Linked DNA regions of Homo sapiens: all the other regions are linked to region 1. Evidence: promoter capture Hi-C in 16 types of primary human blood cells and fetal thymus (Javierre and others, 2016). All regions are on one chromosome and are shown on one strand. Each heading gives the region's core, a stretch centred on a gene start or on the middle of the fragment in contact. The rest is flanking DNA. Distances are from core to core; before and after follow the strand shown. Region 1 holds the start of C1orf174 (chromosome 1 open reading frame 174). Region 2 has its middle 8.2 kb from the start of NPHP4. Region 3 overlaps NPHP4 (nephrocystin 4). Region 4 overlaps NPHP4 (nephrocystin 4).

The links. Contacts are between HindIII fragments. The CHiCAGO score rates a contact against its expected background, and 5 or more counts as called.
Region 2: a contact is called between a fragment that was not itself captured here and the fragment with the promoter of C1orf174 in region 1, in 2 of 17 cell types (naive CD8 T cells and activated CD4 T cells). The highest score is 5.3, in naive CD8 T cells.
Region 3: a contact is called between a fragment that was not itself captured here and the fragment with the promoter of C1orf174 in region 1, in 3 of 17 cell types (naive CD4 T cells, endothelial precursors and naive CD8 T cells). The highest score is 8.7, in naive CD4 T cells.
Region 4: a contact is called between a fragment that was not itself captured here and the fragment with the promoter of C1orf174 in region 1, in 1 of 17 cell types (total CD4 T cells). The highest score is 6.2, in total CD4 T cells.

What each region holds. Positions count from the first base shown.
Region 1 is chr1:3,897,502-3,903,937 of GRCh38, reverse strand. It overlaps C1orf174 (chromosome 1 open reading frame 174), which reads left to right and starts at 3,666. Exons shown (of 4, transcript NM_207356.3): 1 at 3,666-3,766. The coding sequence starts at 3,752. It overlaps LINC01134 (long intergenic non-protein coding RNA 1134), which reads right to left and starts at 3,534. Exons shown (of 4, transcript NR_024455.1): 1 at 3,307-3,534. RefSeq lists silencers at 2,586-2,765, 3,846-3,915 and enhancers at 2,966-3,225, 2,865-3,434, 3,435-4,003, 4,004-4,574. The HindIII fragment of the contact is 4,148 bases long and covers 819-4,966 here.
Region 2 is chr1:5,997,375-6,003,810 of GRCh38, reverse strand. It overlaps a transcript of KCNAB2 not described here. Among named protein-coding and RNA genes, the nearest start is that of NPHP4, 8.2 kb to the right of the region's middle. RefSeq lists enhancers at 253-967, 3,111-3,825, 3,826-4,540. The HindIII fragment of the contact is 3,824 bases long and covers 1,688-5,511 here.
Region 3 is chr1:5,977,232-5,983,667 of GRCh38, reverse strand. It overlaps NPHP4 (nephrocystin 4), which reads left to right. Exons shown (of 30, transcript NM_015102.5): 3 at 5,255-5,398. Among named protein-coding and RNA genes, the nearest start is that of NPHP4, 12 kb to the left of the region's middle. The HindIII fragment of the contact is 489 bases long and covers 2,079-2,567 here.
Region 4 is chr1:5,902,281-5,908,716 of GRCh38, reverse strand. NPHP4 (nephrocystin 4) reads left to right here. Exons shown (of 30, transcript NM_015102.5): 13 at 1,495-1,602; 14 at 2,934-3,085; 15 at 3,234-3,425; 16 at 3,913-4,100. Among named protein-coding and RNA genes, the nearest start is that of MIR4689, 43 kb to the right of the region's middle. RefSeq lists an enhancer at 1-4. The HindIII fragment of the contact is 187 bases long and covers 2,337-2,523 here.

The sequences.
Region 1 (6,436 bases), core at 2,417-4,916:
AAGCAGCAACCGGCAGATTGAATGTAGGGGGCGGGGGAGCATCCAGGAAGGGCCCCCTGAGGACAGGAGATATAAGCTGAGTTGAGGTTTAACAAATGGATTAGCCAGGCAAAACGTGGGTTGGGGAGCTGGGGAAAGAAGGTTTTCAGGCACAGGGAAGTGGGGAAGAGGCTTTGCAGTGGTCAGGAGCTGAGGGAGGCACTGTGGATAGCAGAGGGGCAGGGGAACAGGTGCTGGGACTCTGTGCGGCTGGAGCAGGGAGCGGCAACGGTGAGCAAGCTCAGAAGCCCTTCCGCACATTCATTGGACAAACACCTGCTGGGCACCCACAGTGTGCCAGGCACCATGCCAGGACTTACAGGCCACTCTAAGACTGTGGCTCTGGATCCCAGAAGCAGGGGATCACCCCAACAGCTGTGGGCTGCCCAGGCCAGAGGAAAAGGAGAGACCAGCCGTGAGGCTTCAAAGTCTAGAATTAACAGCAACCGGCATCTGACAGGATGTGGGCAGGGAGAGAGAGACATTCACCAATGGCCTGGGTGTCAGGCCTTACAGCTGGGAGGCTGGAAACCATGCTCATCCCAGACCTGGGGAGAGGACAGACAACATTGGTGAAGGGAAGGAGAGTGCCCTTTGGGATGTTAAAAGTCCACATGGCTCGGAGCCCAGAGCCCCCATCGGGCGGGCGAGGCCAGGCAGTGAGGCATTTACATCAACTGGCACCAACCACAAACAAGACAGGCAAACACCAGCCAAGCCCCAGTGGATGAAAACTTTGAGCTCCCAAGGACTGGGAAATAAAACCACTGAACCAAGCTTATTATGAAATCAATCTCTGCGAAAATGGGACAGGCTAGGTGTTTAACAAAGTATCGCTCGCTCTCATTTTTTTCTGAACAGCTGGCAGCGATTATATTAAGTTTCCATTTCAAACGCATTTCCTGCCAGTTACACATTTGTCTCCTCCCCTTCTGTACAACATGGATAATAACACGGGAGAAGCGCAGGGCTAGGAAGAGAGAGGGTACAACAGCCAGGTAGGACATGTGTGTGTGTGTGTACACCAGGGCTGCAAGCATCTTCACTCACTGCCGAAAGCAAAACCCCACGTGCAGTCTAATTTGAGGGCTCCACCTAATTACCAAACGTCACACTTCTAAAGAGAGTGGAGGCTGCATAGAGCTCAAGCTGGCAGGATCCTTAAATACTCTCCCTTCTCAGGCACTAAAAGGAGGCATCAGCTGCATGTCTGGGCTTTGAGAGAGTCATACCGTAAGAGAAGGCACACTGATGCTTTTGGAAGAGATTATGAATCACACCCTGCCTTGGAACAGTGCACAGAGGGACCCTGAGCAGGCCATGAAGCCACAATGCAATGCAGTTCACTTTTCAACCTTTGTAGTTTAAGTGGAAAACCTAATGCTTCTGACAAAACTGCCTGATTTAAATGTTCTCACTTGAAAAAAAAAATAATGATTTAAAAAGGAAATAAGACTCCCATTTATTTGCAAAGCACAGTACGGGCTGCTGGGTGCACCCTGCGCCCGAGCACCTGGGAGCCAGCCCTGGACTGCGCAGCCACCTGCGGGCGGAGAGGGGAGGGGCCAGGTGTCCTCGGCCTCTGATGTGGCTTCCACCCTGCGCCCTTTTCTGAAGACACACATCCTAGAGCCCAGAGAACTTGAGGGCTGGAGGGTTTAAGGCAAGGCTGGATTTCATTTCTATGTTGAAATTCTTAAGAACAGAACAGTGTGCCGAGCGCGGTGGCTCACGCCTGTAATCCCAGCATTTTGGGAGGCCGCAGCAGGCGGACCACGAGGTCAGGAGATCGAGATCATCCTAGCTAACACGGTGAAACCCCGTCTCTACTAAAAATACAAAAAAATTAGCCGGGTGTGGTGGCGGGAGCCTGTAGTCCCAGCTACTCGGGAGGCTGAGGCAGGAGAATGGCGTGAACCCGGGAGGCAGAGCTTGCAGTGAGCCGAGATTGCGTCACTCCACTCCAGCCTGGGCGACATAGCGAGACTCCCGTCAAAAAAAAAAAAGAAAAGAAAAGAACAGTGGGCCTGGCACGGTGGCTCACGCCTGTAATCCCAGCACTTTGGGAGGCCAAGGTGGGCGGATTATTTGAGGTCAGGAGTTCGAGACCAGCCTGACCAACATGATGAAACCCCATCTCTACTAAAAATACAAAAATTAGCCAGGTGTGGTGGCGCCTGCCTGTAATCCCAGCTACTCAGGAGGCTGAGGCAGGAGAATGGCTTGAGCCCATGAGGCGGAGGTTGCAGTGAGCTGAGATCGCGCCACTGCACTCCAGCCTGGGTGACAGAGCGAGACTCCGTCTCAAAAAACAAACAAACAAACAAAAAAACCCACAACAGAACAGTGGTCCTCAGCTTTACAAACACCTCCCTCAGCGGCGGCCAAAGAGGACGCATCACAGCAGCCCAGGCCTGCTAGGGGCGTGTTTGCTGGAGGAGGCGTGGCCGCCGTGTGTCCATCCAGACCTGATAGGGCGCGGCCATTGGAGGAGGCGTGGCCGCTGCGGGTCCACCCAGGCCTGCTAGGGGCGTGGCCATTGGAAAAGGCGTGGCCCCTGCGAGTCCACGTTGGCCCCGGAGAGTAACGGGACGGCGGAGGGGTCATTTCCCGCCTTGCACGTAACGGGGGACGAAAACCGGCCCCCAGCCCGACGCCGGACCCTGGCCTCCTGGGCCCACCGACGGCCTCCACTAAGGCCCCCTCCCGCCCGCAACGTGGGGGACAGCTGAGGCCACTTCCCGGGCGGGCCACCCCAACCCAAAGCGGCATGTCGCGGGGCAGCACAGCCTGCGACAAGCGCGCAAAGCTCCCCAGCGGGACCGCAGCACGGGCAGGCCTGGGAGTCCCTCGCGCTGCTCAAGGCCGCTAACCGGCACTCAGAAACCAGCGCTCTGCGGCACTGGAGAAAGCACTTCCCGCCCTCCTGCAGGCTGTTAGCCAGGGGATGCAAGGGGAGGGGCCCCTCACGGACGTCCCGCCCGCCCCTCTCAAACATGGCGGCCACAGGCGCACCAAAGGAAGAGCCCCTCACAAACATGGCCGTCCGCCCCTCTCATACATGGCGCCAAAGAGGCTTCAAGGGAAGCGCCCCTCACGAACATGGTTGCCTGCCCCTCTCAAACATAGCGGCCACAGGCGCACCAAGAGAAGCGCCCCTTACAAACATGGCCGTCTGCCCCTCTCAAACATGGTGGCCAAAGAGGCTTCAAGGGAAGAGCCCCTCAAGAACATGGTTGCTCCCCCCTCAAGAACATAGTTGCCCACCTCGCTCAAACATGGCGGCCACAGGTGCACCAAGGGAAGCGCCGTTCACGAACATGGCCGTCTGCCCCTTTCAAATATGGCGAACACAGAAGCTACAAAAAAAGCACCCCCCGCAAACATAATCTCTCAGGCCTGCCACGGGCGTGGGAAACATAGCGGCTACAGGGGTGCCAAGGGACGCGCCCTCATGAACATGGCCGGCCACAGGCCGACTTCCTGCTCCAGTGTCCCACCACTGGCCCAAGGCCTGTGACCTTCGCCCGCCGCTTACGAAAGAGCCAACACGGGGGGGGGGGGGGGGGGAATCACATGACGAGGGTGCTGCACTGTGATTGGCTGTGCTGACGTCGGACGCCGCCGCGGCGCGCTCTGCAGACTCCGGGTCGCCGCTCCGCCGGGACGCGTTGGCCGGGGCGCGCGGTGCTTGGCTGCGGTGCTCACACTCATGAGGAGCCGGAAGGTGAGGGCTGGGTCCCGGCAGCAGCTGCGCCGGGCAGGGCGGGGACTCTGGGTCACCTGCTGTCTGGAGAACCGGGGCGGGGTCACGGGGTGCCTGTGGCCTAGGAGCGGCCTCCGCTTGGGCCTCGCCCCCGGCAGTAGTTGGGGGGCTCCAGGCCACGCTCCCGGGAGAAGGAGGGCTGCCAGGTCACGCCCCTGTGAAAAGGGGGCTCCGGGCCACGCCCTCGGAAGAAGTGGAGCTCACAGGTCACGTCCCCGGGAGAAGGGGGCTCCCAGGTTACCCACCCCCGCAGAATGGGGCCTCTGGGCCACACCCCCGAGAGAAGGGGAGCTCCCAGGCCATGCCCGCGGGAGAAGGGGGGCTCCGGTCCACGCCCTCGGGAGAAGTGGAGCTCACAGTTCACGTCCTGGGCAACAGGGGGCTCCCAGGTCACGCCCCCTTGAAGGGAGGTTTCGGGCCACTTTCCTAGGAAGGTGGGGCACCCTCTCCAGAACTGGTTTCAACTCCTGGTAGTGCTAGATGCTGCAGAGCTGAGTTTGTGCCCCTCAACTGCTGCCACTCCAATGGACGTCACACAGCAAGTGACCTCAGCTTGGCCCCATCTACTGAATGTGCTAAAAGTGGGGTGATGAGGGATCCACCAAGAGGGTGGTGAGGATTGAAGGGGGGTGCCAGTGTCTGGCAAGGGGCAAGTGCTCATTGCGTGGGTGTAACAGTTAAGGCGAAGGACCCTTTTCACAGTGGACCCGGCGCGGGTCCCGGTCCACTTGGGAGGCTCTGAGCTGCATGGAGGCTCTCCTGGTTTGTTCAAATGGAGTGGCCACTTGTGAATTCCAACTCCTTTTACTATTTTTATCTTTGAACCAAAACTTGTCTCCTGTAGGCACATATACTTGGATCTTTTTTAAAATGCAGTCTGGTAGTTTCTGCCTTTTGATTGAATTGTTTAGCCCATGCACATTTAATATTATTGATACACTGTAGTTAGGTTTACATTTGCCATTTTACTTTTTCTTTTCTTTATACAAGTCTGTCTTTTTCTTCCCCTGTTCCTTCTTTAAGTGGATTAAAGTGAATATTTCCTAATGTAGCATTTTAATTTAATGATTTTTTTTCCACAACTTTTTTGGGTTTTTTCCAGTGCTTTATGTTTTACCGTATACAGCTTAATCTTCATATTCTCCATATACATCTTAAGCTTCAGATTTGTACTAGGTTAATTCCAAGTGATACAGAAATGTTACTCTTATATGGTTATTTTTGTGGTATTTTGTTATATGTATTACATCTGATAATGTTACAAACTCAACAGTACTGTGTTATCATTATTACTTTCTGTCTGTGGTCATTTCCTTAGCCAGCAGGGGTTTGCTTTCACCCACTTTGTTTTGTTATTGGCAAATATAGTACATGTCTGTATATATTATACACATATTACTGTATACAATTGCTTTTTAAATTAAGAGAAGGAGGTAGAGGAATAGGCATTTAAACTATATAAGAACATAATTACCTTTACTGGTGCTGTTTTTGTGTGTGTGTGGTTTTGAATTACTGTCTGGGGTCACTTGCTTTCAGCCTGATGAACTTCTTTTAGTGTTTCTTGTAAAGTGAGTTTTGTTGTTGTTGTTGTTGTTGTTGTTGTTGTTGTTGTTTTTGCTTTGAGACCAGAGTCTCACTCTGTTGCCCAGGCTGGAGTGCAGAGGTGTGATCTCGGCCCACTGCAACCTCTGCCTCCCGGGTTCAAGTGATTCTCACCTCAGCCTCTGGAATGGCTGGGATTACAGGAGGCTGCCACTACGCCCGGCTAATTTTTGTGTTTTTACTGGAGACAGGTTTTCACCATGTTGGCGAGGCTGGTCTAAAACTCCTGACCTCAGGTGATCACTGCCTCAGCCTCCCAAAGTGGTGGGATTACAGGCATGAGCCACCATGCCCAGCCCATTTTTGAAGTATAGCTTTGCTGGATATAGGATTCTTGGTTGACAAGTTTATTTGAGCATGTTGAATATGTTTGAATATTCTCCATTGTTTCAGTCAGTTCATTTATTGAGGTTCCCTTCTAAGTGGCTTTCTTCTTGGGGCTTTCAAGGTTTTGTTCTCTTTCAAGATTTTGCCTTTGATCTTTGTATTTTTACAGTGATGTGTCTGTGGATCTCTTTGCATGTATCCTATTTGGAGTTCTGTTCATTAAGATTCCTGGATATGGGGCCAGGCACGGTGGCTCACGCCTGTAATCCCAGCACTTTGGGAGGCTGAGGCAGGCGGATCACAAGGTCAGGAGATTGATACCATCCTGGCTAACACAGTGAAACCCTATCTCTACTAAAAATACAAAAAATTAGCGGGGCGTGGTGGCGGGCGCCTGTAGTTCCAGCTACTTGGGAGGCTGAGGCGGGAGAATGGCATGAACCTGGGGGGCGGAGCTTGCAGTGAGCCAAGATTATGCCACTGTACTCCAGCCTGGGCGATAGAGTGAGACTCCGTCTCAAAAAAAAAAGATTCCTGGATATATAGGTTAATGTTTTTCTGTAAATTTGAGAAGTTCTCAGCCATTATTTCTTCAAATATTTTTTCTGCTCCTTTCTCTCTGCATTCCTGGTGGTTCTTATTTTGTGTATGTTAGTGCACTTAATGATGTCCAGCATTTCTCTGCAGCTTGCTTTATTT
Region 2 (6,436 bases), core at 2,350-4,849, 2.1 Mb before region 1:
GCAGACAAAAACATTTTTAAATGAAAATACTCATTGCTGGCGAGGTTGCGGTGAAACGACGACGAGGAGACGTGGCTGGTTCTGGGACATGAGCTATATACTACGACCTTTTTGAAATTGGGTAGTAGAGGTCCAGAGCTTGGGGTCCAGGAATCCTACCTCTGTGACTTTATCCTAATAGTTCAAGAGAGGAAATAAAGCGAGATGCACACAAACGTTTCCCACAGCCTGATTCGGAAGAGTGAAGAGCTGCCGGATCTCCCAGGAAATAATGTTTAAGTGAACTATAGACAAACGGGAGGGTATAATGTGGCCACTCAGTGAGTGCTCCTGGCTGGGGCAGGGCTCGCGCTAAGAGTGGAGAAGGTGGACGGTGCCTGCGTGTCTGCAGGGGCTGAAGGCAGCCGAGCGAGCGAGTGGGGAGGAACCCCTGCTCCACACCACACGGACCCTGCCTCTGACCCCATGACCCTGCTCTGGTGGGGAGGATCTGTGTGTGGGAAGCAGGGAAAGCAAGTTCCAGGGGTGGGATGGGGAATCCCGCAGGAGGCTCCGGCCACCCGGGCTTGTAGCACAGGCTCTGGAGCCCCTGCAGCCAGCAGGGGCCAGGCTGCTGGGGCTGTGCGCTGGCCTCGCCCCCATGTGGTTTCCCTTTACCTGGCACCCTGGTGACTGTGGCTCAGGAGCGAGGCCAAGGGCGAGCGCCCGCCCCGTGAACGGGTCGCCTGGGGCGCAGGATCAGGCGTCTGCTGCGGTCATGTTCTAGCTCTGTCCTCTGGTAGCTGTGTGACCTGAGACAAGGTCTAGGACCTGTTCTCACCCGGGACACAGAGACGGGAGGAGCTGAGGACTAAGAACAAATGTGTGGAGGGGACGAAGCAGGGGGCCAGAGCCAGAGCAAATCTGCAACACAGGGCAGCTGCCAACTCAAAGGACAACAGTGACGGCAGAGTCCTTGACACTGCTGTCAGCGTCGTCCAGAGTCGGGTGAAGCGCCTGCCTCCTCTTCCTGCAGGGGGGCAGCCGCTCTCAGCTGTCCAGCCCCTCCCAGTACCTCCCAGTCCTGGCAGGGCCGTAGCCCTTCAGCTCCCCTGGAAATCCACTCAAGGGACCTTGGCCTTCTCTGCCTGCCACCTGGGAACACCTGATGGGGACGTGCTGGGATGGTTTCTGCAGTTCAAAGGATTTACCTCCACATAATTAAGTGCCTCGTTTGTAAAAACACAAGCTGTGTCCTCATCGGTGGTGTGGGCATCACGTACGGTTCAGGGGCTGGGACAGAGCCCTCAGTACAGATGACAGGCATCAGGGAGTCTGTGGCCATCAGCCACCGATGCCAGCTCAGGCCACAGCTGCCGTGGCAGGCACCTGGCTTTGTCTCAACCTCAGCTGCAGGAGGTGCATCCCCGCCTCCTGCCAGCTCTGGCTGAGTGCCAGGCCCCAGAGGCCACGGCTGTCTCTGGCCTCCCTTGGGCACTGCCTGTTGTTCAGGGTGCTCAGAGCAGGATTGTATCTGGCGGGGAAGACCCCTTGGGGAGGATCCCTTGGTGTCACAGTTGGCCTCCGTTGGGCCAGGAGCCCTCTGGTCCTCCCTGGTTCTGAAGGCTTCTCTCTGCCTGCCACGGCCAGGGGAGATGAAATCAGGGAGCCAGTGCTGGGGACGATGTTTGCTGGCCTGTAGGAAGCTTAGGCTTGGTTCCAAGGCCTCATGACATGGCCGGGGCATTACCAGTCAGGCTGAGCTGGGGGACAGAGGTGATGGGGACAGCAGGCATGTTCTGTCCTCACGAGGCCCACAGTCTAGGCAGGGACAGATGTCAGCAGTCATGACCACTGCAGGGCATGCTTGGAGAGACTACAGGACATCGAGGGGGCTCAGTCAGAGAGCTGCACCATGATCCCGGCTCTGTCAAGGATGAGTCATCTGGCCTCAGTTTCCCTGTCTATAAAATGAGGAGTCTGGGCTGCACAGTGTCAAAGACTCAGAGAACCTAGAGGGGCTTTCTGAGGCCGCTGGCTCCAGGAGCCTAGGACCCAGTCCTACCACCATGTGAGCAACACTGCCCCACACTGGATCATTTCTCTGTGTGTTCCGGGCTGCGTTAGAGACCAGGAATTCCGCCAAGCCTGGGGACAGGTGTTATCCTGTCCCCTCCAGAGCCTGGGGGGAAGCGTCCCCTGACCTGAGGTGCCACCTCTCCTGCTGCTCACACAGACTGCTCTTCAGAGACCCACCCCCATGGGTGTATCACGGGGCTCAGCCAGGCCCTCAGCACCCATACAGCCCAGCAGGTGGCCAGGCCACTCCAACAACCGGTGATCATGATTATCAGGTTGCTAGAGGGTTGGGGAGACCCTCTCCTAGGCATCCCTCCCAGTGGCACCCCCGGAGGCTTAGCCAGAACCTTCCGGCCCTGGGTGAGGCAGAGAATGAGGGCTGGTGGCACAGGCTCTGTGTGTCTGTGTGTGTGTTGGGAGAGTGTGTGTGTGTGTGTGTGTGTGTGTGTGTGTGTGGTGATCACATGCAGCTGGAGCAGCTCAGGGCTCCAAGAGCACCAAGGGCTCAGGGTAGGGCCTGGGGCCTCCAGGTCGCAGAGGGACCCTGTTCAGCTTCCCTCCACCCAGGCCAGATGAATGGCCCAGCTCAGCAGCACAGAGGAAGCAGGAGGCCTCCGTGAAAGATGTTCCGGCCTCCAAGGTCCCTCCTTACCTGCCCTTGTCCCTCTCCCTGCAGTGCCCTGACACCCCATGCTGTCTCTGCGCCTTTGGACCCCACTCTCCCTGCCTGTGAGGCCACAGCCATCCAGTGCTTCCCCCTTTCCTGACGATGTGAGATGGACGCTGTCAATGCTTTGGTGTGATGCTTTGGTGGTGGCCTGAGTGACGCCTTGGTGCCCTGGACCATACACCTCCTCCCGCTCTGATGTTGGCCCTGAGGGCAGCGACCTTATCCTGGCTCCCGATTCATGAGTTAATGAGGAGCAAGTGACATTCCCCAGACCCTGGTCTCACTGTAGCACTGCCCTGGAGAGGGCTGTCTGTGCTGGCGTCACCAGGACCCCCAGGTGCTACTTCAGATTCCAACGGCCTATAGGCTTCATGTAAACAGGCCCCTTTCTCCCAGGGATATCACTGTTTTCTTTTTTTTTTTTTTCTTTTCTGGGAAGCCCCCATTCAGGGTCTGTTGATAACTGTCACTCACACCAGCAGAGCGGCGGGGGGTGGGGTTCACTCCTCACAGGAGCGGGCTCGCCTGCCCCAGTGGCCTCCCCAGACCCATCTTTTGGGATGGAGAGAGAGCATGGCAGCTCCCCGGAGCCTCTGAAGTGCCCCAGCACAGGGTGGCTGATGTCCCCTGGACACCCCCACTGCCTTGTAAGCACGAAGGATGTAAATAAGGAGGCATCCACTACTCCTTCAAGGAGCAAAGCACCCTGTGTCCCTGCGGAACGGGGAGGTTTTGAGTTGGGATTTACAAGTCCTGTTTTGGGCATCCTGTTTCCTTTGTAGGAGCAAAGGGACAACATGGCTCCGGGCCTTGTGTCTGTGACACCTGAATACCTCCTGGTCTGGGTGACTAAAAATACCTGCTACTCATTTCCATGGAAAGGCAATACCCTCTAGGGGGTGCGGGGGGCTGGCTGAGCAGAGGCGGGAGGCGCTGCAGGATCTATCTAGACAGACAGGGCACAGGTAGGGCGTGCAGAGGGCCCAGATGGGGCACAGACAGAGTGCAGGCAGGGTGTGGACGGGGCACAGACAAGGTGCAGACGGGGCACGGACGGCGCAGACAGGGTGCAGAGAGGGTGCAGACAGCAGAGCAGGATATGGATGGGGTGCAGGCAGGGTGCGGACGGGGCACAGACAGGGCGCAGGCGGGATGCGGACGGGGCACAGACAGGGCACAGACGACACAGACAGGGTGCGGAGAGGGCGCAGATGGCGCAGGCAGGGTACGGATGGGGCGCACATGGGGTACAGACAGGGCGCAGGCAGGGTGCAGACACGGTGCAGATGGGGTACAATCAGGGCACAGGCAGGTGACAGACTCTGTATGGTCAGGAACAGGGTGGCGAGGACTGGCTCCTGTACTGACCCCTGGCCTCCTCTGCCGTGGGCAAGCACTCGGGCCATCAGTACCCCTGAACCAAACCACATTCCAAGAGGCCTGGACACTAACAAGGCGCCCTGCCACACACGGGAGGATGAAAGCACATCTCAGATTTGAAGCTCACAAAAGTGCAGCAGGTCATTCCAGTAGAATGTGGGCTTCACATGTTCCCAAGAATTACAGAAACCCCCGCAAAGCCCTTCTCGCCGGAGCTTTCAACCATCACAAACAGCTTCCTCGTGTGCTTCCTTAAGAAGTAGAGGTGGGCAGGTTCACTGACAGACTGAAACGGCTAGGGCTAGGGAGTGTTTCTCAAAGCATGTTCTTGGAACCCCTGATCTGAGTCACCAGGGACTGGTGGCCAAGGAGCTTGCTAAGCTGCACCAGGACCCCTGAGGGCTGGGCAGGTGCCACACCCTACAAGCCTGCTGGGCACACCGATATCTCAGGACCCTCGGCCCACCCAGGCCCCAAGACTCCACAATTCTTACACAGAACGTAAAGCACTACGCAGCCAACCTATGCAGGGCAACCAACAAGGCTAAGCCCCAGCCCGCAGTTCACGGGTGTCCCCAGAAATGCCCCCCATTAAGGCAGGAAATGGAAGAATGCGCCGTTGAAATCGTCTCTAAAGGGGCGGACGAAAGAGGGTGCTGCTGGCAGTTGCGGTTAAGCAGCAAAGCGGCTTCGTCTACGCCCGCCAGCCCCGGAGCCACCCTGTGCCCTCACCTTCCTTTTCCTCCTTTCACGGTCAAATCTCTCCAGAGCCATTGGCGGCAAAGTCCAAAGGTCACCAGGGTGGGACTCTGGCTTGGGGTCCTGGCTCCTGCGCCTAGTAGCTTGGAGGCCTTAGGGAAGCCACTTTGACTTTCAGTGTTTCTGCCTCAGTCAGATGGGTATAAGTTGGTTGGCGAGTGCTTGGAAGCTGGTGGTGCTGAATCTGGGGTCCTGCGCCCCCTCGCTGCTCCTGGGAGCCCAGCTCTGCTTCCCCTCTCAACAGAGGCTGCCTCCTTGGCAGCAGCTGGCCCACCGGATGCAGCAGATACCTGCCTCATCCTCTATTTTCCTCTCCTCCCCGGGCTCTGGAAGAATCCAGGGTTCCCTACTGTCTGTCTTGACCTTCATCTTCCCTCTCAAACCCGTACCCTTGGCGACCCTTGGCACTACCCCCAGGTGACACTGTCAGGGCTGTGACCAGTAGGTAGGTGGCAGTCACCTCCAGGTCCCACCTCTCCTGTGAACCCCAGCCCTACCTTCTCAATGTCAGTGGGCACTGCTGTCCAAGACACAGACCTCGAAACCCAAGGTCAACCGAGCCCAGTCCTCCCCATCCAGAGGCCCCGATTCTGGCTCTGCCTCTTTCAGTCTGTGCAGCCCAGGTGGACCCAGCCAGAAAAGCTTGGGGGGCTCCAGGGCTCTCCTCTTCCCTCCCTCCCCATCACTGTCCAGCCCATGGTGGCCTTGGCCCTGATGCCCTCCCCTAGTTATCCTATTCACCCATATTCATGCCCTAGCCTGTGACCGCACTGGGCCTCTGGCCATCATCCAGCCTGCCTGGTCCTCCCTCTGTGACCTTGCCCATGCAGAGCCCTTTTCCAGACCATCCTTTCCTAGCTCTGCCTATCACAACCTGCCTGTCTTTCAAGGTCCAGGTCAAATGTCCCCACTGCCCCCGTCTCTCCTTCCCTATCAGCAGGGTTTTCTCTGACCATTCCAGGCATGTGGTCACTGCATCCCTTTCCTGGGTCTCAGCCCTAGAGGAGGGAGGTGGGTCTTGCTCATTCTTGGTCCTTCAAATGTCTGCTGCTAAGACCTTCGCCCTTCACTGGCATGTATAGGTTTTAAGCAATGTTTTAAATTTAAATTTGTTTTATAATGAATAGATCGAGCTGAATCTCCTTGCCCATGCATTCTAGTTATTCCTTACCCTCCTGCATCTGGGAGGGGTGGCAAGAATATCACTTTCAGAGAGCCCCTGCCACGGCTGAGTGTTTGGGATCACAGGGCTCCGAGGCAGAATTCTAGAGTCTTCTGTCCTAGGCTGCATTGAGAGCCTGTGGATACCAGGGCCTGAGATTGCAATGAAAGATCATGAAGCTGCCCGGGGGTGGAAAATGAAAACACATTCATGGTGAAGGAGGGGGAGCATGCTCAGAGCATGGCTCTGCAACCCACTCGGTGCCCAGGGGCTGCTGGAATCAGACAGACAGGTGGGCAGGTGTGCAGTGGGGGTCTGGCAGGCTTGCAGGCCCTCCACGAGGCCCAAGGTCAGGGAGAATAGGGCAAGGAGTGTCCCTCCCTCAGAGGGAGGCTATTCCCTGCAGA
Region 3 (6,436 bases), core at 1,074-3,573, 2.1 Mb before region 1:
TCACATGACTCAGCATGTAGTCATACTCTCAGCTAAGGTTGATCCAGCAGAAGGATACAGAGCAAGATCAGCAAAGGGAGGAGGCATATGGGGGATGTCTGAGGGAAGAGGGTACAAGCTTCCAAGAGTCCTCTCTCAGTTGAGTCACACAGGATGCGTTTGATTCCTCCAGCAATGAATTGTAACAACACACGTGAAATGTTGTGTAGCATGTCCAAAATTCCAGACTCTCAGAAGGGAAACACGTGTTTAGCATAAGCCACAGTACATAAACAGTTTAGGCACAGTGAGCTCCTCTTACCAGTTAGGTGGTAGGAACTCTCTTGAAATCTAAGTTCCCAGACTCCAGCAAAAGGGCAGACTTCTAAGCTGGTCTTTCAAAGCATAACAGTAAGGTCTGTTCTGATAACTCTTTTGTACAAAAGAGCAAAATTGGACAGAACTAAAGGGAACTATATTCAGATTCATAATCATGGTTGGAGACTTTTAACTCTTCTTCTCTCAATTATTGAAAAAACAGATAGATCAGAACACTCATAGGGATTTGGAAGCTCTGAAGAATACCGTCAATCACCTTGTCATCTCTTAACGCTACTCCCAAGAAAGCTAGAGTACACATTCTTCCCAAGTGTACCATCAATCACCCTGTCATCTCTTAAACACCACTCCCAACAAAGCTAGAGAACACGTTCTTCCCAAGTTCATATGGAACAGTCACCAAGATAGACCGTATGCTGGGCCATTAAAATGTCCCAATAAGCTTCAAAGGACCCAAATTATAGAGTATGTTTATCGACTACTGTGCTTTTAAGTTAGAAATAAATAATATGAGATCTAGAAAATCCTCAAATAGGAAATTAACATACTGGATCAAAGAAGAATTAATAGGGAAATTAGAAAATAATTTGAACTGAGTAATGGAAGAAAATATACAGATTTATAGGATATAACTAATACAGTTCTTTGAGGGAAATGTATAGCTTTACATGACTATATTAGAAAAGAAGAAGGTATAAAATCAGTGACGTCTGTTTCCTCCTTAACAACCTAAATAAAGGAACAAATTAGATACAAACCTAAATAAAGGAACAAATTAGATACAAAGTAACTAGAAGGAAGGAAATGGTAAATACAGTTATGCATGGTTCCTTGACAGTGCCGACACATTCTGAGAAATGGTGTTAGGTGATTTTGTCATTGTGCAAACATCATAGGATGTACTTACGTAAACCTAGAGGGTAGAGCCTGCCTCACACCTAGGCTCCATGGTATAGCCTGTTGCTTCTAGGCTACAAACCTGTATGGCACATTACTGTACTGAATACCATTGGCAATTGTAACACAACGGTATATCAAACATAGAAAAAACAGTAAAAATATAATATTACAATCTTAAGGGGCCAGTCATATATACAGTCTGTTGCTGATCGAAATGTCATTATGTTACACATGACTGTATATGAGCAGAAATCAATAAAGGACAAATAATAGAGAAAATCAGCAAAGCCAGAAGTTGATTCTCTGAAAAGATTGATAAAATTGATCAAGACAAAAAAAAAAGAAAACACAGACTACCAGTATTAAAATGAAAGAAGCATCATGATAACGTACGCTACAGAGGTTAAAAATACAATGTTGAATTTTATCAGATACTAAAGGAAGAAATAAGACGAATTCTAGACAAACTCAGAAAATAGAGGAGGAGGGAACACTTCCCAGCTCATTTTTTGAGGCCACCATAATTCTGATACCCAGTCAAGGGCACTACAAAAAAAAGTACAGACTTGTATCCCTCATGAATATTAACACAGCAGCCCTGAAAATATTAAGACAGCAAAGCCAGCAATATGTATAAAAGATGGGGTATTAGGATCAAGTGGGGCTTACTGCAGGAATGCAACGTTGTTTTATTTACAAAGATCAATCAAAATACAGTATTTAAAAGAAGATAAATAGAATTCATATAAATTCTATAAATAGAGTTTGGAAATAGATGATGGTTTGGTATAGATAGTCTTATAAGTTTGTATAATTTTAGTTGTTTTGAGAATTGATAGCTTTAGATAATGGCCAAAGCTTGCTTCCCTGTGAAAGGTGTTGGCTGAAGAATATTACATGCTTGTTTTGAATTCAGGGCACTTTATTAATGATTTTAGTATATTTCTTTTACTGTCCCATTTACTTTTTTTGTTTAATTTTACCATGATCATTGCTTATATTTCTTTATTTTGGGATGAGTATTTCAGTTCAGCTTGATATGTATTGGGCACCACGATATGTTAGGAACCGTGCAGATGACACAGAGTTGACTCTGCCCTATACTGTGTCTTCAGGAAGCTCTCAGTGGATTCTTATTTGAATAGACTGGATGTGAAGTAGCATAGAGGTGGTGGGAGGGTGGTTAGGATCTGGCATTCTGGAAAGAAGCCCAAGCCAGCGACGGTTCTGGGAGCCACGGGATCCTGCCTGAGAATGGCCTCCTGAGAGTGCAGGAGAGGAGGAGGAGGAGGTGGCGGTGCTGGGGGAACCCAGGCAGTCCCGGGTGAGGAGGGGCACGTGCAGAAGCTTTGCCTAGGCCCCAGGGACAGAGCAGGGAACAGACTATTTCAGGCTTGTGTCCTCAGAGAGCTCACGTTGTAGATGGGGGCAGCAGACAGTCAACATGGAAAAGCCAGGGGGTTGCTCTGGGGAGAGATGAGGCAGGCTCAGAGGGCAGGTCTGGATGCGGGAGGAGCTGAGGAGGAAGAGAGACTGAGGGGAAGAGGGAGGAGGACAGGGAGGTAGCGTGGTAATGGGAGCTGGGGGCCAGGCCCCGGTGCGTGGTGATGGGAGCTGGGCTTGGAGTCTTCAGACCTGCTCTGCCCACCTTCCCTGTCCTCATGGATAACACCACCTCCCTCCACGTTGCTTCACTTGAGATGCGAGATTCAGTACTGGGCCTGGGAGGGCTGGGCCGACCTAGGCAGCTGGCCCTTCCCACTTTTCTCCCTTCATGACCACGCAGCCACTCCTGCAAAGCAGCAGAGCCCAGCGGTGCCTGCTTCCTGTCACCCTCCCTGCCCCTCCCTGTCTCGCCTCCTCCTAATTGGCCCCTGCTTCCACTCCCGCCCCCACATGGCAGCTGCGGGAATTTTCTTAAATCCCGAACCAGATTGTGTCATTTCTGCTTAGAATCTCTCCCTGGCCTCCCTGCATGATTGGAGTGAGAACCCAGCTTCTCCTCGCGCCGTGAGGCCTGCCTGAACGCTCTTGCGCCTGGCGCTCATTCCTTCTCTCCTCCCTGGCCCAGCCTGCTGCAGTCCGGTGGGCTTTCTGCTTAGAATGTACCTGGGACTGGTTTCCATTTAGGGGTGGTGAGGCCAGCGGATCAGGAGACAACTCAGCTGAGACCCTGTCTGTTACTCAGGGCTCCCAAGACGAGGGGTAGGCCATGTCCCACAGGCCACCTGGGGAAGCGCAGGGTTGGTCAGGAGGCAGGAGGGTGGAAGGGAGGCATGGGCAGAGACTTGATTATGGTTTTGTGGGAGGACTGGGCCAGGGAGGGTGGGCAGCTGGACGGGCTTGCGTTGGCCAAGGAGAGTCATGTCGTGGTCTCTGAGGTGCAGGGATGGCCCGAGGTGTCTGGTCACTGACCCTGAGAGACCATGGCAGAGGGTGGGACTCCTGGGGTGTGTGAGCCAGACAGAGGTAGTGGGGCATGTGGTCTCTGGACGGGTTGGTTTTCATGTCAGACACATTCTGATAGGCCTGCCATTTGCCACCCTAGGAATTAACCGGCTCTGGGGGACAGTCTTATCTCGTCACTGAGGCCCCAGATGCCAGAGCATCAGTAATACAGAAAATTAGAAAATACAGGCCGGGCATGGTGGCTTACCCCTGTAACCCCAGCACTTTGGGAGGCCGAGACGGGCGGGTCACTTGAGGACAGGAGATCAAGACCAGCCTGGCAAAACCCACTCTCTACAAAAAGTACAAAAATTAGCCGGGTGTGGTGGAGTGCACCTGTGGTCCCAGCTACTTGACAGGATGAGGCAGGAGGATTGCTTGAGCCTGGGAGGTGGAGGCTGCAGTGGCCAGACCTCCAGCCTGGGTGACAGACGAGACCCTTTTCTTAAAAACAAAAACAAAACACAGGTACTATAGCTAAATATAGTTCCTGCACTTCTCGCTGGCTCCTGGAGCACGTGTGCTCTCTTCCTCTCAGGACCTTTGAGTTTGCTGCTCCTCCTGCCTGGCTCCCTCTCCCCAAACTCCCTGTGGTTCTTCTCATGCCCCCCTTGTTCTCAGCTCAAGGATCATCTCAGAGAGCCTGCCCTGCCCTGCCCTGCCCCGCCCCACCCACCTCTCTCCCCGTTCTTCACCATGTAAGCCCTGTAAGGGCAGAGATTTTGTCTGTTCCTTGTTGTTTCCCTAGTGCCTGGAAATGTGCCTGGCAGAGAGTCAATGCGCAGAATAGATGTGTAAGTAACGTTTACTAAGTGAATAGGTGAAAGAAAGGTGGAGGACTCTTGTCTCAGGTAAGAACCTGTCACAGAAGAGAAAAGGCTAAAGCAATACTTGCTGTAAGTGGTAAAGCTCCGGGGCAGGGTCCTGCCTGTCTACACTCTGGCTGCCGCTCTGGGCAGGGTCCTGCCTGTCTACACTCTGGCTGCTTTGTTCTGTATTTGTAGCCATGATTTCTCAATTCTCAAAGATCTGCTTTTTGCTTTGCCAATGTCACCCCAAAATCTGGGAAGTTGAGGATTTAGTTTCTGGTTATATCAGGAAGGGCTCATTTGGTTGGAAATGATTAACAAACCCATCCAAAATGATTTACGTGAGAGGCGATTTGTTGACTCACAGCAAATCCACAGCCAGCATAAGCTTCAGGTGTGGCTTGAGCGAGGTCTCAGGTGATGTCCCCTGGACTTGTTCTCTCTCACCTGTTGGCTGCTGGGAGCCCTGGGCCTCATCCTGGCAGGCGCATGTGTCTCCTGTGGTCATGTCCTCTTGTGCGTCCTGGGCTCTGGCTGAGTCAGAAGCCTGTGTCTGTTCCAAGGGACTGCAGTCTTTCGTTGGCCAGGGGAGGGCCAAATGCTTTGGTTTATAACCCCACCAAGACCAGTAGCTGTGGGAGAGAGGTAGCCTCCCAATAAGGAAACCAGCGTGCTGATATCTGAGCGAGGTGGCCCCATATGCACCCACATGGCCTGCCAGTGACCTCCTGGCTCATGGTGCTCAGACTCTTGAGGGTCAATTCCCCGTTGTCTCCTAGGGCGTGCTGGAGGTACTGTCAGAGGTTGAATGCCATCTGCGAGTGTCTTTCTTTGATGTCACCTACCGGCACTTCTTTGGGAGGACGTGGAAAACCACAGTGAAGCCGACGAAGAGACCGCCGTCCAGGATCGTCTTTAATGAGGTGGGCCCTGGTGATGGTGGCAGGGGCTGCTCCAAGGCGGAGGGTGTGTGTGCGGGTGGTCCTGGGTGGCAGCCCAGAGACTGGGGCCTTGCCGAGACCTCACAGCGCGTCTCAGACTTGTGGGTCCAGGCAGCACAGAGCTTAGTCTAGCGGCAAGCGCTTTGTTACCAAACAAAATCTTATGTGGAAGCCAGTTGTCTTAAACAGATGAGAGAGCTCTGCTCTGCTCTGGTTGAAGGGTCAGGGGAATGGGGGTCTTGTCACCTTCAAGGAATCTTGGAGTTCTTGGGAATAAGTTGGGAAATGATTGACCTCATCTATGGCTGCTGCCACTACTGCTCCCTCTCCTCCTCTCCCCTCCCCTCTCCTTCCCCCTCCCCTCCCCCTCCCTTTCCCTTTCACCGTCCCCTTCCTTCCTTTCTTCCCTCCCTCCTGTATAGACAAACTAAGATTTAGTAAAGTGACTTGCCCAGGTAGCAGGTATCAGAGCCTGGACTCACACCTGTGCCTTCTGTCTTGAGACCGGCAGGTGGATGGGCACTGGTTGAGCAGCGTGTTTTCACTCAGGTGGTCTTGCGGCTGGCCACCCTGCGGGCCGGCATGCTCTGTCTCTGTGGTTCACTGCACAGCATACATTCCATTCAGCACCTGCTCTCTGCAGGGCATCATGCTAGGCTCAGGGTGATGATGGCGCTCACCTAACAGAACTGCAGACTGTTTCGGAGACGCACTGAGCAGGTAACAGAGTAATTGCAAGTTGTGTTAAATTCTCAGGAGGAGACCGATAGGAGAACGTGGAGACCAATAGGAGAACGTGGAGACCTGCTTTAGGTGGGTGACGAGGGAGGCCTCTCTGCGAAGCTGCTGATTAAGCTGGGACTTACAGGATGAGAAAGAAACTGACTCCGTGACAAGCAGGGACGAGGCTGCTTCAAGCAGAGCAGGGAGACCCAGGGGTGTTAGGACGAGAGGAGAGCCCAGGTTTGCTGACGGGTGGGGTTGGCAGGGTGGCCCCGTCGTGCCTTCTGGCTGGGTCCT
Region 4 (6,436 bases), core at 1,181-3,680, 2.0 Mb before region 1:
AGACAGTGGCACTGCTGAGAACCACAAGCTGCTGGCAGTTGCACGTCCGACCGCACAGATCCCCGTGGCGCTGGAACTTCCTGAGTGGGAGGAGAGGCGCCTTCCCGCTGGGCCGTTGCCCGCCAGCGGTCTGAGCTGAGCTCCTGCTTGGCTGCCGTTCTGGAGTCCCGAGACACCCGTGGCGCTCACCTGTGGCTCCAAGGCTGGCCTTAGCTATGTGATTTGCAGTGAGGTCAGATGTGGCTTGTTCCTGCTGATGACTTTGTCTGCCAGCATCATCCTGGAAATTGACTTTCTAGAAAAGTTGACTAATTCAGTATCCATGGCTGTCTCCAAGGAAGCAGCTTTAGTGTGTCATCTGCAGTGGGAAACTGGATCAGGAGTGAAGAATACTGGATTCACCTAAAGGCGCAAGTCTGTGGACGGCCTCCCAGGCTTCCCTGCTGGCCCAACCTGGCATTTTCCCTGGAGCAGTTTCCACGTGACCCCGAGTGGTCACGATACCGTATAGGGTCTGAGGGAAGCTGGGTAGGCCCCAAAGATCTCCTCTGCTCCCTGAAGATGCTGCCAGGGTCCCCTGGGGATGCTTCATGCACCCCGCCCCCCATTCATTCCTCAGTGCCTCTTCATACATTGGGGCCTCTCTGCCAGCACCTGGTGTGGGCCAGCCATCATTGCTGACAGTGAATGTCTCAGGTGCTGGCTGTGTGTACTGGAGTTAGAGTCCGGGTTTGAGATCTGTGTCTTCAGTAGTGCGTGGGCCCCCAGCCCTCCGCATCAGTGTTTTAAGCCGCACTCATTTCCAAATATCTGCAGTATTTATAGAAGGCTCACCGTGTGCCAGGTACTATGCCAAACCCTAGCCAGGATTGTCATTTAATTCTCCTAACAGTCCTGCAGTTTAGGTACTATTATTACCCCCATTTTACAGGTGAGGAGACTGAGGCAAAAAGAGGTTAGCTGACTTGCCTGAGGCTACACAGTAATGCCACATTGGTGCGGGCACTCCACGGTAATGCCACGTTGGCACGGGCACTCTATCCACAGCTGTCTCCAGAGCCCGCGCTGGCCATCAAGATGGTCATTGCCTTAACAGGGAGGTTTGTTCGATAGGAACGCAGGCGGCTAGAACTGGCAGGGCCTTGGAGGTGCTCAGTCCAGTGCTGGCAAGGGACAGAGAGGCAGAGGCCAGGCCGCCCCTGTAGCTTGAGATGCTTTCTCCTTTCTTGCTTGTTTTCCTTGTTAATAATATTCTTATTCAGATATTATGATCTGGGGGAGATCATGGAATCACCTCTCTGTCATTAAATAAAGGAACTTGAGAAGCGGTCCCAGGTTCCAGAGCTGCCCTGGCCAGGAGGCTGCAGGCATCACTCCCTTCCGTGGCTGGATCCAGGGCTACCCCGTTCCCCGGTGTGGCCAGTGCATGTTGGGAGCTTTGTGGACGGACTGGCAAGCTTCTGAGCCCCTCACCTGTGCTCTCTTTCCTTCCAGTTGTCAATTTCCCAGCTGGCGGCCTCCCCGCGGTCCCCGACTCAGCACTGCTTGGCCAGGCCTACTTCACAGCTACCCCATGGCTCTCAGGCCTCCCCGGCCCAGGCAGTAAGTGCCGCCCACCTGCCGCCTTGCCTTCCACCAAGGAATGGCTCCACAGCTCCTCATTTTGGGTTTTTGCACTGTGCCTGTCCTTAGTTAGGTGGCAGAGACCTTGGCGGGTTACCTGGGATGTGGGTGGGAGTGGGGCATTGCTTACTCTGAGGCCTCAGACAGTTGTCACCATTCTGTCTTGGAGACCAAAGAAGAATGTGGCCCATGAGTTCTTCATACCACAGCGCTTGACTCAGATTGTGCTCTACCCATGAAAACAAAGTTAAGCTACCCCTAGGTCTCTACGTGAAAGTAAAAGGAAGGTGTGGCTATATCTATAGACAGGCTGAGACAGGCACCCAGCACCCCAGGACCCTCCTTGCTATCAGCAGCTAAAGGAGGTGAGTGGAGCCCGCCATCCTGGCTTCAGGGTGTGCTCCTGGCTAAGACTGGCATTGCCACTGGCCTTGGGGAATTCCTATGGAGTTTGGTTTCCAAAGTCGGCTGGTTCACCTGCAAACTGCATCTTTGGTCTTAACTGGAATTATGTTGAGGAAAAATAGTTTCTTTTAATTCCTTGTTTGAAAACACTCCTAGCACCATGAGTCTCTGCTGCTTTATCTAAAGCATCTCTGGGGCTCATGTGTTTGTGAAGAGCTTGCCTAGCTTTTTATTATTGGCGCATGAGACATGGTGTGAGGGTGACCTGGTTTCCTCTGGGCTGAAACAGAAAGCTTGGGAATGAAGCTTGAGAGAGCACATTCCCAACTCCCAAGCCAGCTCCTCTCTGAGAGGCCTGCCTCGGCCTTGGAGGGGAGTGGAGGTGGAATACGAGTGAATGACAAGAAGTTTCAGGGGCTGTGGGGACAAGAGACTGTCCAAACACGCCAGCCAGGGGCTCGGTGCCACAGTTTATCTTGGAGTATTGAGGAAGCTTCATCTTTCTGTTCTATAAACATGCTTTGATATGAATTTACCATCTCAGGTGTCAGGTATCTCCCACGGTCCTGACCTGCTCATAAAATTAGGATTCCCTCCTCACCGCTTCTCAACTCACACATTGGATTGCCACGTGAAATATAGGATGCCCAGTTAAATTTGAACCTCAGGTACACAACAAATAATTTTTTAGTGTAAGTATATCCCAAATATCGTAGGGACCATACTTATACTAAAATCATTTGTTGTTTACCTGAAATTCAAGTGTAATTGAACCTTTTGTATTTGCTAGAGCTGGCAACCCTCCAGAGGCAATTAATCGATGAATCCCCTTAGATCTGAGCACCGTTGGTTGTTACGGGTTGGGGTCCTTGGTGGCCTCACTTGGAAGCCCTCGTTTTGTTCAGCAGGAGTTCCCGTTGGAGGCCGGTATCTCCCACCTGGAAGCCGACCTGAGCCAGACCTCCCTGGTCCTGGAAACATCCATTGCCGAACAGTTACAGGAGCTGCCGTTCACGCCTTTGCATGCCCCTATTGTTGTGGGAACCCAGACCAGGAGGTGAGGTGTGGGTCTGGGTGGGATGGAACCAGTCACGTGCTGTGCCGTCAGACTGTTGGACCTTGTGAACCCCAGGGTTTCCACAGGGAGGTGCATCAATGGGTCCCCCCTTTCCCGGGAGGCTACCTGAGGAGTCTCTGTGTCTCAGCTCTGCAGGGCAGCCCTCGAGAGCCTCCATGGTGCTCCTGCAGTCCTCCGGCTTTCCCGAGATTCTGGATGCCAATAAACAGCCAGCCGAGGCTGTCAGCGCTACAGAACCTGTGACGTTTAACCCTCAGAAGGAAGAATCAGATTGTCTACAAAGCAACGAGATGGTGCTACAGTTTCTTGCCTTTAGCAGGTAAATCCTTGAATATTCTGTTACTCATCTGGCTTTCACATTTCCTGTGTTGAAGAGAAACTTCGCTGAGGTTCTGACCTGGCAGAACTGTCTGTGCTGAGGTCTTAGTAGATTCGGGAGTGCCATCTGTTTTTATCTTCTCTTGGCTAGGACCCACCCACAGCATGCTAAATGCTGTGAAAGCTGCTTTACCCCATCTTTTGTGGTCCTTCATTAAAATGTGGACGGTGGGTTGTCCAGGTCTTAGATCTTAGTGTAGCTCCAAAGGCAGCTTCTCTAGCCGGGAGTGTCCTTACACTCGAGAATGCTGCTGTCTGGCCGGCTTGCTGAGAGCACAGCAAAGCGGTTGCATTGGTGACCACGGCAGCCTCTTTACTGTTCCCCAGCGACTAAGGTGCCTGGACCATCCCCTATGCAAACACACATTAGACCCCTCAGGTTCTGTGCCATGGATACTCAGTTAACCCAGAGCTGTTGTTGGATTCAGAGTGGCCCAGGACTGCCGAGGAACATCATGGCCAAAGACTGTGTATTTCACCTTCCAGTTCTACCGCTTCCCACCCGCAACGACGCCACGACTGCAGCTGGTCCAGCTGGATGAGGCCGGCCAGCCCAGCTCTGGCGCCCTGACCCACATCCTCGTGCCTGTGAGCAGAGATGGCACCTTTGATGCTGGTGAGTACTCATGTGCATGGCAAAGGCAAGACATTCTGTACTGAGTTGTGTGTGTAAATTGTCAGTGTTATTAAATAAGTGGTACTATGAAAAGTTTAAAACATATGCAACATTAGAATCATACGGTGACCAGTGCAGCAAACACTTAGCCCCAGCAGCTCTCAGCTGCCTCCCAACCCAGCGTCCTCCCCCAAGCCAGGGTTATTTTGAAGCAAATCCCAGACATTATATAATTTCATGTATGAATATTTCCTTATGTATATCTAAAAAATTAGGAATTCTCATTTGAAAAACATAAACTTAAGGGGTATAGCCCATCTAAAATAATAACTCCTAATATCATCAAATATCTAGCCAATGTTAAAATTTTGCTAGTAACCTCATAACATTTTTTTAAGTTTGTCCAGAAATAAGGTCCATACTGGTCATGGAGCAGTGTGACTCTTCAGTCTCTGTCTGCAGTTGCTGCCACCGTACCTGTCTCTGTTGTTTCTTTTTTATGTATTTATTGAAGAAGCCACATTGTACTGTAGAGCGTCCACCCCACAGTCTGGATTCTGTTTTTGTATCCTGGTGGTAACATAAAGGTGTTGTTCTGTCCCCTCTTTAGCTGTAAATTGGGAGTTAGATCTAGATGCATGATTAGATGCTTTTTTTTGTTTTTGGCAAGAGTTCTTTGTAGCAGGTGACGTTTGCGCCACCTCCTGCACCTCCGCTGCGCCCTTGGCGTCTGCTTGCTTCTCTTTGTGTTGCGTCAGCAGCCATTGTGCCCACCGCTGTGTCATTTGTGCAGAGGTGACGTTCTGCTTCTAGAACACCTCCCTTGTTTGTTAGCTGGGATGCTTCCAAAACCAGAAACTTCCTGGCATCAACTTTTTGCTTACCTTGAGGTGCAGTTTGTATAGGAAAGGCTGGATAATACTTGATTCTTCCCTTTATTTGCCAATTTCTGAAGTAATTACATGATTCCCTGGCATCCTTCAAGGATGGGGACTAATGACTTTTTTTTTCTTCGGGTATCATTGTAAACGAATAGATTGAAGCTACATTGAATAGAAACACACCTGACATGTTGATATTTTTATTGATGGTCAGTTTCCCCATCTTGGTCAGTGACTCAGCTCATAAGGGACCCAGCTGGGGTCTGAAACACTGCCGCCTCTCGAGGTAGAAAGTGGCAGATGGGAAAAGTGATGTTAAAATGCTGACCTCAAATGAAGTAGCCTAACAGTGGCACCTGACAGCAGAGACACAAAGCAAATGCAGCGCTAGGGATCAAGGAGGCTGGTAAACAATAACCAAGAAAGTAATTCACTAGGAAAAGAAACAGTTCTGAATCCGCGATCTTCTAACATACGTAGCCTCAAGATAGAGAGGAGAACTTGATGGACTTATAAGGAGAAATTGGCAAACCTCCACAATCATGGGAGTTCTAGACATACTTCTCAGTAGATTGATCAAACAGAAACAAGTTAATAAGGATATTATAAAATACAGTTTAAAAAGGTGATCTGAGAAAACCTGTACATCCCGTTTAGAGAATATGCATTATTTTAAAGCATACTTTGAAACTTAGAAAAACTGATCATCATTCATATATATTTTTTAGCTCACCAAGCAGGCATCACCCTATACTGAGAGAATCGGTATCAAATCTAATTTTATAACTTTCTCTGGCCATAATGCCACAAGATCAGAAGTCAGTCACTCCCTCCCCTACAACCACTCTGAACTGCTTTTATTTTTTTAATTTTAAAATGTGCTTCTAATTATTCCATGAGTCAATGAAGACCTCAAAATAGAAATGCGTAATTATTTAAAACTGAATGACAAAATAATATTGCATATCAAAACTTAGGAGATGCAAGTAAAATTGTAATTACAGGGGAATTTACAGTTTTAAATGCCTATGTTGGTGAAGAAGAAAGGTACTCTTTAAGATATTGTTTTAATTGTTCAACTTAAGAAGTTTTGGGGAGAAAGACAGAACAAACCCAGTAAAAGTAGAAGGAAAAAAATTTGATAAGTGTAAATGCTTAGAAGACAAAACAATAGAACGGGTCAACCAAACAGTTGGGCACCAGGGTCACCAGGTACAACAGGGCATGCTTCTTGTTTCTTGTCCATGGGCACAGTCGGTCAAGAGAGGCAGATGGCGGAGATGAAAATATCACTTTCTTTATCATGCATTTATTCATGATAAAGAGGGTGTAGGACTTGGTTGGTCTGAGAGCCAGCTGTGCCCACTGGCGCCAGCCCCTGATGTGGATGGCCTTTGATGCAGGTGGAGGTTGGCCAGACAGCAGCAGGCTTTGCACCTGGGGTGAGCCCTCGCC